Linked DNA regions of Homo sapiens: region 1 is linked to region 2. Evidence: promoter capture Hi-C in 16 types of primary human blood cells and fetal thymus (Javierre and others, 2016). All regions are on one chromosome and are shown on one strand. Each heading gives the region's core, a stretch centred on a gene start or on the middle of the fragment in contact. The rest is flanking DNA. Distances are from core to core; before and after follow the strand shown.

Region 1 (6,200 bases), core at 2,544-5,043, 110 kb before region 2:
GACTGCTTCTCCTAAATAGCTTAGTGACAGGTTCCCTTCCCACCCCATCAGGAATGTTCCTCATGAATCACCCGGAAGTCAGACAGGCGCACAACTCCCTCAGGTGTGTGCAGCGCTCCACATTACCTCTCTGAACCTCAGTCCACTGCATGCTCAGTATTCCCCCTGGTCCTATGAGGAAGCTGAAGATCAGCTAGTCAGGGGATGGATAGACCCCAGGCACCCTCCTTACTGTAAATTTGCTGGGATTTGGAATCAGGCCCATTCACAGTTGCTTACACCACATTGAGAGTCAGTGTGGTGACTGGTCACAAGCCGGGCACAGAAGCCGTCTCGCATTGCCCCAGATTCTCATCTGCAAAGCGGAGCTAATAACAAAGTTTGCCTCGGGAGATGTTGTGGCAAGAAATGAGTTGAGATGAGAATGGCTCTCCACACAGTTATGGGCAAGAAACACCCTGCAGAGCTGTGGCTATAAGCATTCCTGTGTCCTGCATGCTTGCCCACCTCCCTGAGCCTCTGCCCCAGAGCTAATGGGCTGTCCCGACCAATTCTAGCTGGAAACCTCTCCAAACCCTCATCACGACCCACACATCTCACCTGGACAGTCCTAAGAGGCCCTGCAAGCTCAGCCATGGTGAGCACCTCCTAGACACTGGACAGACATACACAACTCTCCAGTGAAACCTCCTGTGGCTCCCCTTGGAAATGTCCCCATGGAGTCATGGCAGTGGTCCCTCTAGGATGGGTCCCTCTGAAATCAGTCTGACTCTCTTCCTCTTTCAGGCCTTCTAGTGCTGCCTCCCCCAGACTCATTCTGCATGTAAACTCTCCATTTTCAGGGAGTATGGTTGAGTTTCTCAGATCCAGGCTTGTGTAGATGTTGCTTCCACGGCCTGAACTCATCAAGCTCTCCATTCTCAGAGACCCATCCCACACACACAGCTCCCTGAGAAATGTCCTTGGCCATCCCTGCCCGCAACCTGTGCATTCTGAAGGGCAGCTGCCAAGCATGGTCCACTCACATATAGCTAGCTCCCGGAAGCTGTCCTACTTTTTTCATGGAAGGCTGTAGCAGAGGGAAGCCACATCAGCTATCCGGGGAAACCAGTTTATTTTCCAGTACTTATAACAGAGAAGCAAAGATCCTCACACATTTAGGAAATCAACAGCACAAAGGAGATAGGTCAAGATGAATAAACAAAATAACTGACCCCAAAAGAAGCTGAAATAACTTAGGGAATAGAAAATAACTTTAAGAGACCAAAACTTCCTTTAATGCCTAAATTAGAGAAATTACTGAATCCATATAACAAGAGCAGATTGCCATGAAATAAGACAGACTAAGAAAGCAAGAAAGAATCCTTGAAAACTAAGCATGACTACTGAAATTTGAAAACACATCATTAGAAGGGATGGGAGAACCAGCTTAGGAAATATCCCATAATGTAGAGCAAAAACACAGAAAGATGGAAAACTTCAGAGCTAAAATAAGAGACATGGATGATTAACACTAATGACCCATCATCCAATTACTAAAATTTCCAGGAAGGAAAAATCAAGACAATGAAAGGCAGCATATCAGTCATAGTCTGCACAGGACACATAATTCACCCCCAGATTGTCAAACAAAGGGATTTTAATAAAAAGGTAACTTACAGAGGTGTGGGAAGCATTAAAGGAAAGAAACAAGAAATGGTGAGGCACCCAGAGACTGGCAGAAGACAGAAGCAATCACCACCCTACAGTTAAAAGAACAAAAGGAGAAAACCACATTACCACAGCCAGAGGACTGCAGAGGAAGGGCCCCCAGTGGGAGCTTCTGTAGTGTGGAGGCATGCCACCGCCTCCAGACAGCATGGAAGCAAGGGGAAGTAGAAAAGAATTCTACCAACCTCTCTCTCCTTCCACTTCCAGTCTCCTGTCAGTCCCTCCCATTGACCAAACCCAACTGGAGCCCTGCCAGCAAAGGAGCCATCAGCTTCCCCTGGCACAGGGAAGAGCAGAGAACCACAGTAGAGAATGCATCTGGGTGGGGTGTGAGCAAAATAGTCGACACATAGAATCATCAATAGCAAGAGTATTCCAGAGCTACAGATTAAAAGGAAGCCCGAGGAACTGCTCCACACCTAGACAGGTACTGCAAAATTTCAAAACACCAAAAAAAAAAAAAAAAAAAAAAAAAAAAAAAGATTCTAAAATGTTCCATGGGTGGGAGCAGGAAGAGAAAGGTTGCCTACAAAGGAAAGGAGAGACAGAGACCATTCTCAGTCTTGTCAACAACATAGGATGATGGAAGACTCTGAAAAGATGGAGCTATATTTTTAGGACTCCTGGAAATATATTTTGAACCTAAAACGCTCATCTCAGCGATAATATCAAGTGTAAAGGTAGAATAAGGATATTTCTAAACTTGCAAGCTTACATTTCCTGAATCCTTTCTGAGAGAGTTCATTAAGGAAGTGTATTAGTCCATTTTCACACTGCTATAAAGAACTACCTAAGACTGGGTGATTTATAAACAAAACAGCTTTAATTGACTCGCAGTTCCACATGGCTGGGGAGGCCTCAGAAAACTTACAACCATGGCAGAGGGGGAAGCAAGGTACATCTTACATGGCGGCAGGAGAGAGGCTAGGGACTCCCAAACACTTTTAAACCATCAGATCTCGTGGAAACTTACCATCATGAGAACAGCATGAGGTAAACTGCCCCCATAATCCGATTACCTCCCACCAGGTACCTCCCTCGGCATGTGGAGATGACAATTAGAGATGAGATTTGGGTGGGGACACAGAGCCAAACCATATTAGAAGGTACTCCAGCACAACTGGTATAAAATCAAGCAAGGAGAGATGAGGTCAAAGAAATGGTTGAACAGGCCCAGGAGCCTGGGATTTTCTTTCCCTACGCAAATAGTAAACCTGCATTACTGTATTTCTAGGGGAATTACAGGGATCGATGCCATGATTAAAGACATGAAAGATGCAGGGACAGGGAGGCCTGTCACATTTCTGCCCACTTGGCTCACCTCTTTAGCTCTTTAGCCTGTGCAGGAAGTTGCTGAATCTTGGAGAATGACTGTATGTCGTCGTAAATTTAATCAGGCAGTAACTCCAATTTTAGCTGCTTTTCTAAATGCAACATAGAACAACTTAACCACTCTCAGCACTTAGTATGTAGCTATTGACTCAGCTTGTGTTTTCTCCCCATCTGTATCGGTAAGAACCAGCAGAAGTTTGCTTTCACCTGGCAAGGATAGAAGTACAAAGTCAGTGTCTTCTCCCAGATCATGTTCGTTTTCCAGCTTTCTGTTATAGTGTGGTCTACAGAGACCTTGATCTTCTGAACATCCCACAGATCCACAGATGGTATGCTGGTGCACTACACTGGTAGCACATGCTGATTGAACTGATGAGCAGGGAGAATAAACCAGATGCCTTCATAAGATGCATGCAGCACATGGGCATGGGTGGGACAGTAGCCATCATAGCCCGGGTAGTCTAAGCTAAGCACACGGGATATGTACCAGATGGCACCCATCTGGCGTGGGGGAGCCTGGCATGGCATGTCAGAGCCAGAATAGGACAAAGAGTGGCCATGCAGGGAGGCAGGGGCACGGTGGCCTAGCACAGGGTGTTAGAGTCCAAGTACTGTCAAATGAAAGTCCACATGGCAGAAGGGGACAACCAAGTGTGGATGTCAGAGCCACACAGAATGAGTGGAGGGGCAGAGTTCTGCTATGGAAGATTGGGTATATGCAGGGGGACCAACTGAGCAAAGTTGGGAGCCAGTTTTCTCACTCATGGAGAAGGCAGTCATGAATATGGAAGGAGGGAAACCCAGAATAAGCCCTGTGGTTTTGATTAGAATTGAAAGTATTGAAGTGAGCTCATGGTTTTCTATATAGAGAGATAAATATTGATCTAATAGTGTGTGTGCATATATATCCTTGCTCTGTCCACTGAGAGAGTCTAGGAGCAGTGATACCCCAATAGCAATGAACACTCCTAGCACCCATATATTGACTTCTAAATGCCATTCTCCATTAAAAGAATCCAAGTCTCCTTCGGAAAATGGCTGATTCCAGGGCAAGGGCTGGGAAAGCCCAAGATAAACCTGAAAGATCTTGGGAGCTAGAAAGTAATGAAGTACTCTAAGAATGAAGGGTGCAGGCCAGAAAAGCCCAGAACCTGGCTTGAAGGGGCCCTTGATGGCCAAATCTTCGACCATGTGAGCATCAAAGTAAATAATAATGATGATGGATAATAACCTACTGAATAAAATAAAAATCTGAGTCCATTTCAATATAACTAAATGATGGAGTAAAGTGACAGTTTGATGAGGAATGGAATATATTCATGGTTTCAGTGTGCCTCATCACAAAATATTTGTTTATTACAAAGAGAAGAGTCACCTTACAGTGGAGAAGGCTGGCAGTCACCTCTGTAATCAAATGATCATAGCGAACACCATCTCTAATCCTAGAGTGAAATTACTCACCGCATGACAGGATGCAAGGAAAACGCAGCACAGCTTCTGTGATCTTCCTGCTGAAGGTGCATGCAAGTGAATCCAACCCTGAAGAAGCATCAGCCTCAACCCAGGTGAGGGACATACTACAGAATAACTGGCCTGTCATCTGGAAACATAAGGCCATGGAAGTCAAGGAAAGAAGGGAGAACCATTCCAGATTGAAGGAGACCAGAGACAGGAGAATGAAACCTGTGTATCTTGGGACAGCTGATGAAACTTTAGTGGAGCCTGCAGATGAGGCGGTAGCAAGGTGTTCATGCAAATTGCCGGGATCATGCTTTCAAATGGCATAGAAAAATTAATGTTCTTTATCCTCACTTTCAACTTTTCTATAAGTTTAAGATGATTTAAATTATATTTTTAAAGGTGTCAAAAATTTTCTTCATCTTTATAGAATGAAACAGAAATAAAAATTGAAAGTGGTAACCTCTGGAAATAGAACTGGGGGAAAGAAGGAAAGAATATCAACGGGAGTTATCTGACCCATAGGATTTTAGGTCATTTTTTGCTTTGTTTCCTTTTCTAAATTTCTCTCTATTAAAAAAGAATGAATGATTACAACTTTATAAAGGAAAGAATCCATAAAATATATGTAATTAAATCCCATGGTACAAAGGGCAAAGAAGCTTGGCAACAACGCTTCCAGCCTCAGTTTTGTCATATGTAAAATGGAGCAAAGATGGGTTCAGGCTCATTACAAACTGGTGAGGGTTCAAATAATTAAGGGATAGGGATAGAATATCAAAGTATTTTCAAAGCCACATAGAAGGGAGGTGTGAGGGAGGGTTCCTAGGACTTCAAAGTCGGAAGCCGATAAGGGCCTGGCCTTCCCAGAAGCCTTCTAAGTAGAGATTCTGGCCAGCAGGGCTGCTGAAGTGGGCACACCTGCTGTAGGAGGCGTCTCCTTGGGCCCTGAGGGATCACCTGTTCTTTGTTTGCCTTTGCTTCTCTGCTGAGGCCATAAAGAGGCTGGGCTGTAAAATAACCTACTCTGGCCCCAGGAAAGAGATAAGAGATGTCAACTGGGCAGCCAACACCTTCCCTGCCTCCCACCCCAAACAGCTGGCCCTGCCCTCCCCACCCCCACCTCTTCTTCTCTCCAGAGTAAAGCTGGACTTCCCTACTGCCTCCTGCCTGTCCCTTCTCACCAATGCTGCCACCCTTTTTCTCCACTCTATTTCAAGGAAGTAGCCATCTGCCACTAAAACTTTATCCCATGGTCCAATCCATGAGCTTGAATCCAACCAGCCCAGAGCAGCATTTTCCCCCTTGATAGAGAATAAGAGAAAGACAAAGACAAAGGCACATTATTTCCCTAAAGTCCTATATTCCCTGTCTTCTGTGAACCAGTGAAATTATCAACCCACAGTGGGTCAGCTGCCCTTCTGTGGAGCACATCAGAGGAAAAATACCAACGCAGCCCTGGCTGCACACTTTGTGTCGACTCTCCCAATCCTTCTCCCTGCCTTCTGGAACTACAGAGATTCATTCAGTCTACTGTCATTCAACTAATATTTTAAAGCAGTTCAGTAGACTGAATGTTACATGGACAATAGACTCAGTGTTACAGAGACACTGGATGTACAGTTTCGCTTCCAAAGACATGTTATAAAAAAGGGCACAAATGGGATAATAAGTAAAATAGGCACCAGATTACCATATGC
Region 2 (6,510 bases), core at 982-3,481:
ATGGTTACAGGAAAACAAACAGTTCCAGGTGCAGGGGTTTTAAATCCATCACAAGGCGATAGATGCGGGGGCTTTGGGTACCATCAACCGGACACAAATGTGGGGGCTTAGGGTACTATCAACTGGGCAAATTCCTGGGAACTGCGGATATAGCTTGCCACAGTATCTTATCCATTAATTGCATTCTTTGATGTGCTGGGAGTCAGCTTGCACAAGTTAAGTCCTTGAGGAAGGGGGGTGGGTAAGGGGCTGCAAGTGAAGGAGCCAAAATGGAGTGTGTCTGGCTCTCTCAGCTAAGGGACAGTCAATTCAGGTTAAAACAAGGTAGGGTATCACACTTACAAGAGGGAGGCAGAAAGAGTTGATGTGAAATGACCTGGAGTGGGAGAGGTTAGAAAAGGCTGTGCTGCCGGCTTTGAAGACAAAGGAAAGGGCCACTAGCTAGCAGCCTCTAGGAGCTGGAAACGCTGGGAAACAGCTCCCTTGCCTCCAGAAGGCACAGGCCCTGCCAACCCAGTTTAGATTCCCGACCCCCCGAACTGTGAGATAACATGCATGTGGCTTAAACTACTCAATCTGTGGTACTTTGTTGCAGGGGCAACAACAAACATACAGACATCTAACTCAGACCCGAGGCCTTGGGTGGGACCCAGGCCCCATTTCCTGAGACACCTGCTCCCACAGCGACCTGGGGTAAGCAGAAGTGGGGGAGGATTCTCCAGACACCCCAGACTGTCTCCAAGTAGAGCGGAGATCTCGCCAGTTAAGCGCACAGCTGAGGACAGTTACTGGGTGAAGTGGCCTGGGTCTCCGCCTTCTCATGCCCCCACCGCCCAGACCCTAGAAGGGGAGTGGCTGCGGCCTCTGCACCCTGGCGCTGAGGGCTCCCAGACCCGGCCCAGTGGGGCACCCCAGTTCACCACCCTCCTCGCCTTAGGTGAGCCAAAGCCCAGGCAGGGTGGAGCCTCACGCACACTGACTGCCCCCTAGGACAGGCACAGGTGACGCGGGGGTGTGGGACCCAGGCTATGACTCTGGACATAACCTTCAAGGCTGTAAAACGAGAAGGTCCATCCCCCCAAAACACGCACTCCCCCACAACCACCCCCTCCCCCCCCCCACACACACACACTCCCCTGCACCACAGATACACACATTCCTTTCGCTCCCCACTCAGACGCCTCGAGGCCTCGGCGGGGGAACCATAGGGGCGCGACCAGGGCGCGCCGAGGTGTGACCAGAGAGGACACGCAGCGACCTTACTCCCGCCTTTCCCGCAAGGCGCGTTCGCCAGCCTGGACTAGTGGGCACGGGCCCTGCGTTCTAATAATCACCATAATAATAGGCGCTGGGTGTACAGAGGGGACCCAGGCGACGCTGGCCTCCATCCGATAACCACCGTAACAGGGGCTGGGCCGCGCCGCTCCTCCGCTCTAAGTGCTCTTTACATGCTTCTTAAGTTACCGGCAGGCCAGCCGCCCTTACGAGAGCCCCTCACGGACATTAACCCAATTGAGAAGACTGAACCCAGCTTACGAACGTTAAGTTGTCCCAAATCGCAGGGCTGGCGAGTGAGGAGCCTGAATTGGAACCCAGGAGCTTCTGGAACCCGCTCCAGAATTGCGCTCTCGACCGGTTTGTCCGCTGAGAGCGAACGGGTGCGCGAGCGCCGCATCCCTGCCCAAGGCCATCAGGCAGGCAGCGCTGGGGCCGGGGACCCGCGCGGAGACTCCACCCCGGGATCCGGGAAGGCTCCCCCGAGCCGGGGTCGGAGCTGCGGCTGGAGGGGCCTCGGCTTGAGGAGGATCTGGGAGGGCGGGGGCTCAGTCCTGGCCACCAGGTGTGAGGGGTCGGGTGCGGAGCCCTGTGTCAGACGCGGCGGTGAAGGCTGTAGCCCTGCTCTCCGGGATGGGGGTGGTACTCTCACCCCACCCTGCCCCAAGCCGCAGGGAGCCCCTGGCGCCCCTGGCGCCCGGGACCCGCCCTGGCTGGAGCCCTGCGGTTTCCGGGAGCTCACGGTCGGCTCTGCGCCCCTCCACCGCCGGGCCTGGGCCTGGGCCAGGGACGGGCTGGGGCGGGACTGCGGCCTCGGGGCGCTGGGTCCCTGCCCCTGCCGTGCACTGCGCGGCTCCCCGCGCCGCAGCTGGGCACCAGCAGCACCACGGACCGCCCCTGTGCTCGCCCGACGGCGCCCCGCGGCGCTTTAAGAGACGGCCTGGCAGCCCAGCCCCAGCCGCCCAGACCGGCGAGACCAGCCTGCGGGAGCAGCCCCATGGCGGGTAAGCGAGCCTCGCCTCCCCAGCCCAGCCCCGGCCCCTCTGCGACCCTTCCAGCACTTGCCTCCGCCCCGCCGCCCCCGCTGGGGTGCAGCGCCTGCCCTGCCCGGCCTCGGCGCGCTCTTGGAGGGGCACTGGGATGGAGTAGACGCTGAGGCCCGCTCTTCGCGGTCAGTTGCGGCTTAGGAGGTGTGGGGGGTCCGGCCTTCTCACCACCCCACCCAGTGCAGATCCCTGAGACCTGAATGCCCCGCGGCCGCACGTCACCCTAAGGGAGGCACCTTTTTGGCCCGCCCCAGGTGGCCAGCGGTTGGAACCCAGCGTCTGAGCACCCCCGGGGCGAAGCCTCCTAGGTCCCGCAAATGCGGACGTGTGAGGGCCAGCAGCAACGGGGTCTTGCCCCCTTTTCCTCCCCACCTCGTCCACCGCGTCGCACCAACTCCCCTAAGCGCGTGCTCACCTTGATAGAGGGCTAGGGGAGGGAGCGGGTGTTAGAGAAGAGTCCAGCCTTGCAGCAGGTTCCAGGGCCCCAGAGGGTAGAGGTTTGATTGCAGACCAGGGGGAAGGTACCTTTCAGGGCTTTCCTTAACTGACTGCGTCCACACCCCAGCTCCCCTCCTGGCCTCAACAGGAGCCCAGGGGATATGGAGGTTCTGGTGAGGGCAGGTTTGATTTCTACTCAGAAGCGCAAGGAAATGGCTTCTTTAAGCCAGAATCCCAAGGGCAGGGCCAGCTGTTTTCCAAGGAAAACTAGAAGGTTCTGCCCAGGGCTCTCAGACCCTGGGGTAAACGGCTTCTCCTCTGAGAGCTGGCGGAACCTAGCCAGCAGCATCCCTCCCGGAACCCATCCCCAGCAGGCCTGCTCCTATCACTCCTGAGATCAAACCCAGAGGCAGGGTTGCTGCCCTAGTTCTGCCCCAGCAGGCCAGGGCTGTGAGGGAGAGTGGCTTTCCCAGGCAGGCATCATAGTACTGGTGGTCTCTGCCCCCAGAGCAGCTGGCCCTGGTGATTGGGGGCACCATCGGGGGGCTGCTGCTGCTGCTGTTGATCGGGGCAAGCTGCTGTCTGTGGAGAAGGTTCTGTGCCACCCTCACCTATGAGGAGCTGCCTGGGACACCAGCCATGGCCACCACAGCTGCCTCCAGTGGGCAGCGGGACAGGCCCTGCCAGCCGCATGCTAGGACCCAACTGAGCAGGTGAGGCAGGATGTGGGGCCAAGTGCGCCCCTGGAATTTCCCTCAGGGTGGGGTCGAAAAGGAAAGTTCTGTTTATGGGGGTGCCTCTTCTATGCTGCTTCGGTGCTGGGAGCTATCACAAAGAAACCCCAGAAACCTCACATCAGCTATTAGGCAGGTGTTATGAAACCCATGTTCCAGGTGAGGAATCTGAGGCTCAGTGCACATAAGCAACAGGTCCAGAGAACACAATTAGTAAGTGGCAGAACAGGAATCCAAACCCAGACTGGCTGACACTGTCAGGTGCTGTGTTCCTTCTTCAAATCCCACTGCTGTGTGTGTGTGTGTGTGTGTGTGTGTGTGTGTGTGTGCGTGTGTGTGTGTGTGTGTTGCCTGGTATGGGCCCAGAAAATGGTGCCCTGGCCTCCTCCTGGCTCCCGATGGCTTTTCTTCCTCCAGCCCCTGGTGCTCAACCGTCCTGGCTGAGCGCTCTGAGACCACACCATTGACTTGCCACCTACATGTTGTCTCCCTGACTCTGGACAGGCCACCAGCTGTGCCATTCGTGGTGCCCCCAACCCTTCAAGGCCGAGATTGGGTGCCCCTGCACAGTGGAGAGTGGGCCGATGCCCCATGGGACCCCTGCCCGGCATCAGAGCTGCTGCCTCACACCTCCAGCGGCGGCCTTGGTGAGTGTCCTTGCCAGGGCTGCCCAGAGGTCAGGGTCTGCTCGGGTGGCCCCATCTGCTTTCACCAGCTTGGCTCCGGAACACAACCTGAACCAGCCAGGGATGCCAGGGACCACCCAGGGACCACTCTTTCTGGGTGCTTTCATTTATGAAGTGCTTGCTGCACCCCATGAGGGTAAGATATGGCCTTGGGTGCTGATTTGGAGTGAGACCTCACCATGACTCTGAGGGGGAGGAATTATCACCCCATTTTACATAGTCTTAACTGAGGCTGTAAGCAACAGATTGGAATTGGAACCCAGGCACGCCATGTACAGAACTTGTGCTGGGTCCCACTCTAGGATGATGGGTTGGTTGACCAAGAGGACAGAATGGTAGGGGCTGCAAACACAGCTTTCTGCCACCTCTTTGCCCTGAAGATCTACCAAGAGACCATCACAGGAACCACCCAATAATCACCTTGGCCCTTCTAATTTGAAGAGGAAGAAGAAAGGCAATGTTTTATCGCTGAGTCATTCCCTAGACGCCATGGAAGGGGGCTAGGCCAGGTGATGGGCACTGTGTCCTTGAAACAGGTCCTGACCTCCAAGGATGGGGGCCAATCCCAGGGGGCAGGACTCTGCTGGATCCCCAGCCTGGCCATGCAATGCCTTCATGGTGAGAAGGCTTCTTGGAGGAGCTGCACCAGAGAGAGGGGATGTGTTTAGCCTGGTGAGGAGAGTGGGGCAGATGTGGTCAGGCTAGCTGAGGCTCAGCAGAGACGGATGGGCCAGGATGGGGATGGGTGCCCAGAGCTTGCCACTGTCTCCCATGCCCCTGCCTTCCTCTGGCCTGCCAGCCCTCCCACCCTCTGTCATAGGAGATGCATGTATGGTGGGGGCCATCAACCCAGAGCTGTACAAGTTCCCGGAGGACAAAAGTGAGACCGACTTCCCCGACGGCTGCCTGGGGCGGCTGTGGTTCTCGGTGGAATATGAGCAGGAGGCTGAGCGGCTGCTGGTGGGCTTGATCAAGGCACAGCACCTGCAAGCCCCCTCGGAGACCTGCAGCCCCCTGGTGAAGCTCTACCTGCTGCCCGATGAGCGGCGCTTCCTCCAATCCAAGACCAAACGCAAAACCTCCAACCCGCAGTTTGACGAGCACTTCATCTTTCAGGTACAGCCTCTGGAGCAGGCAGGGTCTGGTGCCCTCCGCGTTGCTGGGAAGGTGCAGACCTACAGGAGAGCCCAGCCTCCTGTACCAGCCAGGGCTCTGCAGCCCCCGGGACCCTTGATGCCACCAGCTCTGCTTTACCTAGTCTGCTAGGTTAAGGCCTATAGGAGCTGATCCCTGATAGAGGGGCAGGGGAGAGATTTGGTGAGTGGTGACCAGAAGCCTGGGCTTCCCTGTCCTGACTACCTGGAAGAGAGTGGGTGAAAACACAATTTTAGAGCAACTACTGAATGCCAGGCCCTGGCCTATGGGGCTCAGGGGAATTATCCCAAAGGCCTGAAGCACTATGGGGTTTCTGGCAAGTTTATCTAAGGAAGGCAAAAGACAGGCCTCAGCGTGAATGCAGAAGCTTCCTGTGCTGTCAGAGGCCAGCGCGGGGCCCGAGTGCCCTCACAGGGTAGGTGTGGTGCCTTGCTGCACTCTGGGCTGGCCGGCTTAGGGTCTGGAGGTGGAGAGTCTATTGGGGCACCGAGCCAGTTTCACAGGGGCCTGGGAGCCTTAGCAGGTGACTGGGGGCCCTTAGGGGAAGGAGTCATCGAGACCTGCCAAGAGGCCTTGGACAAACATGTTCTCAAGAGCTGGGTGGCAAGCTAGCCAAGAGGTGAGGTTCAGCCAGTCAGCTTTCAGGAGGAGTGTGACTGCGGAGGCCAGGGCCATCACTTGTGCCTTCCGCCCTGGCTGAGAGCTGGGAAGAGGGGTGCCATCGGGCCTGGTCCCGGGCCGTCTTTCTGAGGCCAGGGCTGTGAGAATTCACAGGTGAATCGCTCTTCTCAAGACATCAGAATCCAAGGCTGCAGCCTTGCTGACGTGCGACACGTCATGCTTGCAGGCTAATTTTTCTTAGCTCATCACTTCCCCACTCTATCTCGCCCCAGCTTGATCCAATCCCTCTGTGGAAAAGGGAGAAGGGGAAAGAAAAGAAAATCAATATTAATGGGCCATCTGCTGGAGGTCAGACACTGTGATTGGGGTTTTACAACCAGAGAGGAAGACCCATAATCCCCATTTCACAGGCGAGGAGGCCAAATCTCAGGGAGGAGAGAGCTGGCATGCCCAGCTCTGACAGCAGAGACAGGCCGGTGCCCTGGGCTCCTGGGCCTTTGCTACAGTGCAGGGTGGTGGCGGAGCCACACTCACCGTGCAGCCATGTCACTTGGT

The links. Contacts are between HindIII fragments. The CHiCAGO score rates a contact against its expected background, and 5 or more counts as called.
Region 1: a fragment that was not itself captured here is called in contact with the fragment with the promoter of SYT15 in region 2 in 6 of 17 cell types (M1 macrophages, erythroblasts, M0 macrophages and 3 more); the score reaches 6.6 in M1 macrophages.

What each region holds. Positions count from the first base shown.
Region 1 is chr10:46,468,539-46,474,738 of GRCh38, forward strand. It overlaps a transcript of NPY4R not described here. Among named protein-coding and RNA genes, the nearest start is that of NPY4R, 5.7 kb to the left of the region's middle. The HindIII fragment of the contact is 2,742 bases long and covers 2,423-5,164 here.
Region 2 is chr10:46,576,897-46,583,406 of GRCh38, forward strand. SYT15 (synaptotagmin 15) reads left to right here and starts at 2,232. Exons shown (of 8, transcript NM_031912.5): 1 at 2,232-2,279; 2 at 3,268-3,472; 3 at 3,998-4,140; 4 at 5,000-5,295. The coding sequence starts at 2,273. SYT15-AS1 (SYT15 antisense RNA 1) reads right to left here. Exons shown (of 2, transcript NR_155739.1): 2 at 5,272-6,242. RefSeq lists enhancers at 2,097-2,974, 2,975-3,854. The HindIII fragment of the contact is 10,756 bases long and covers 1-5,703 here.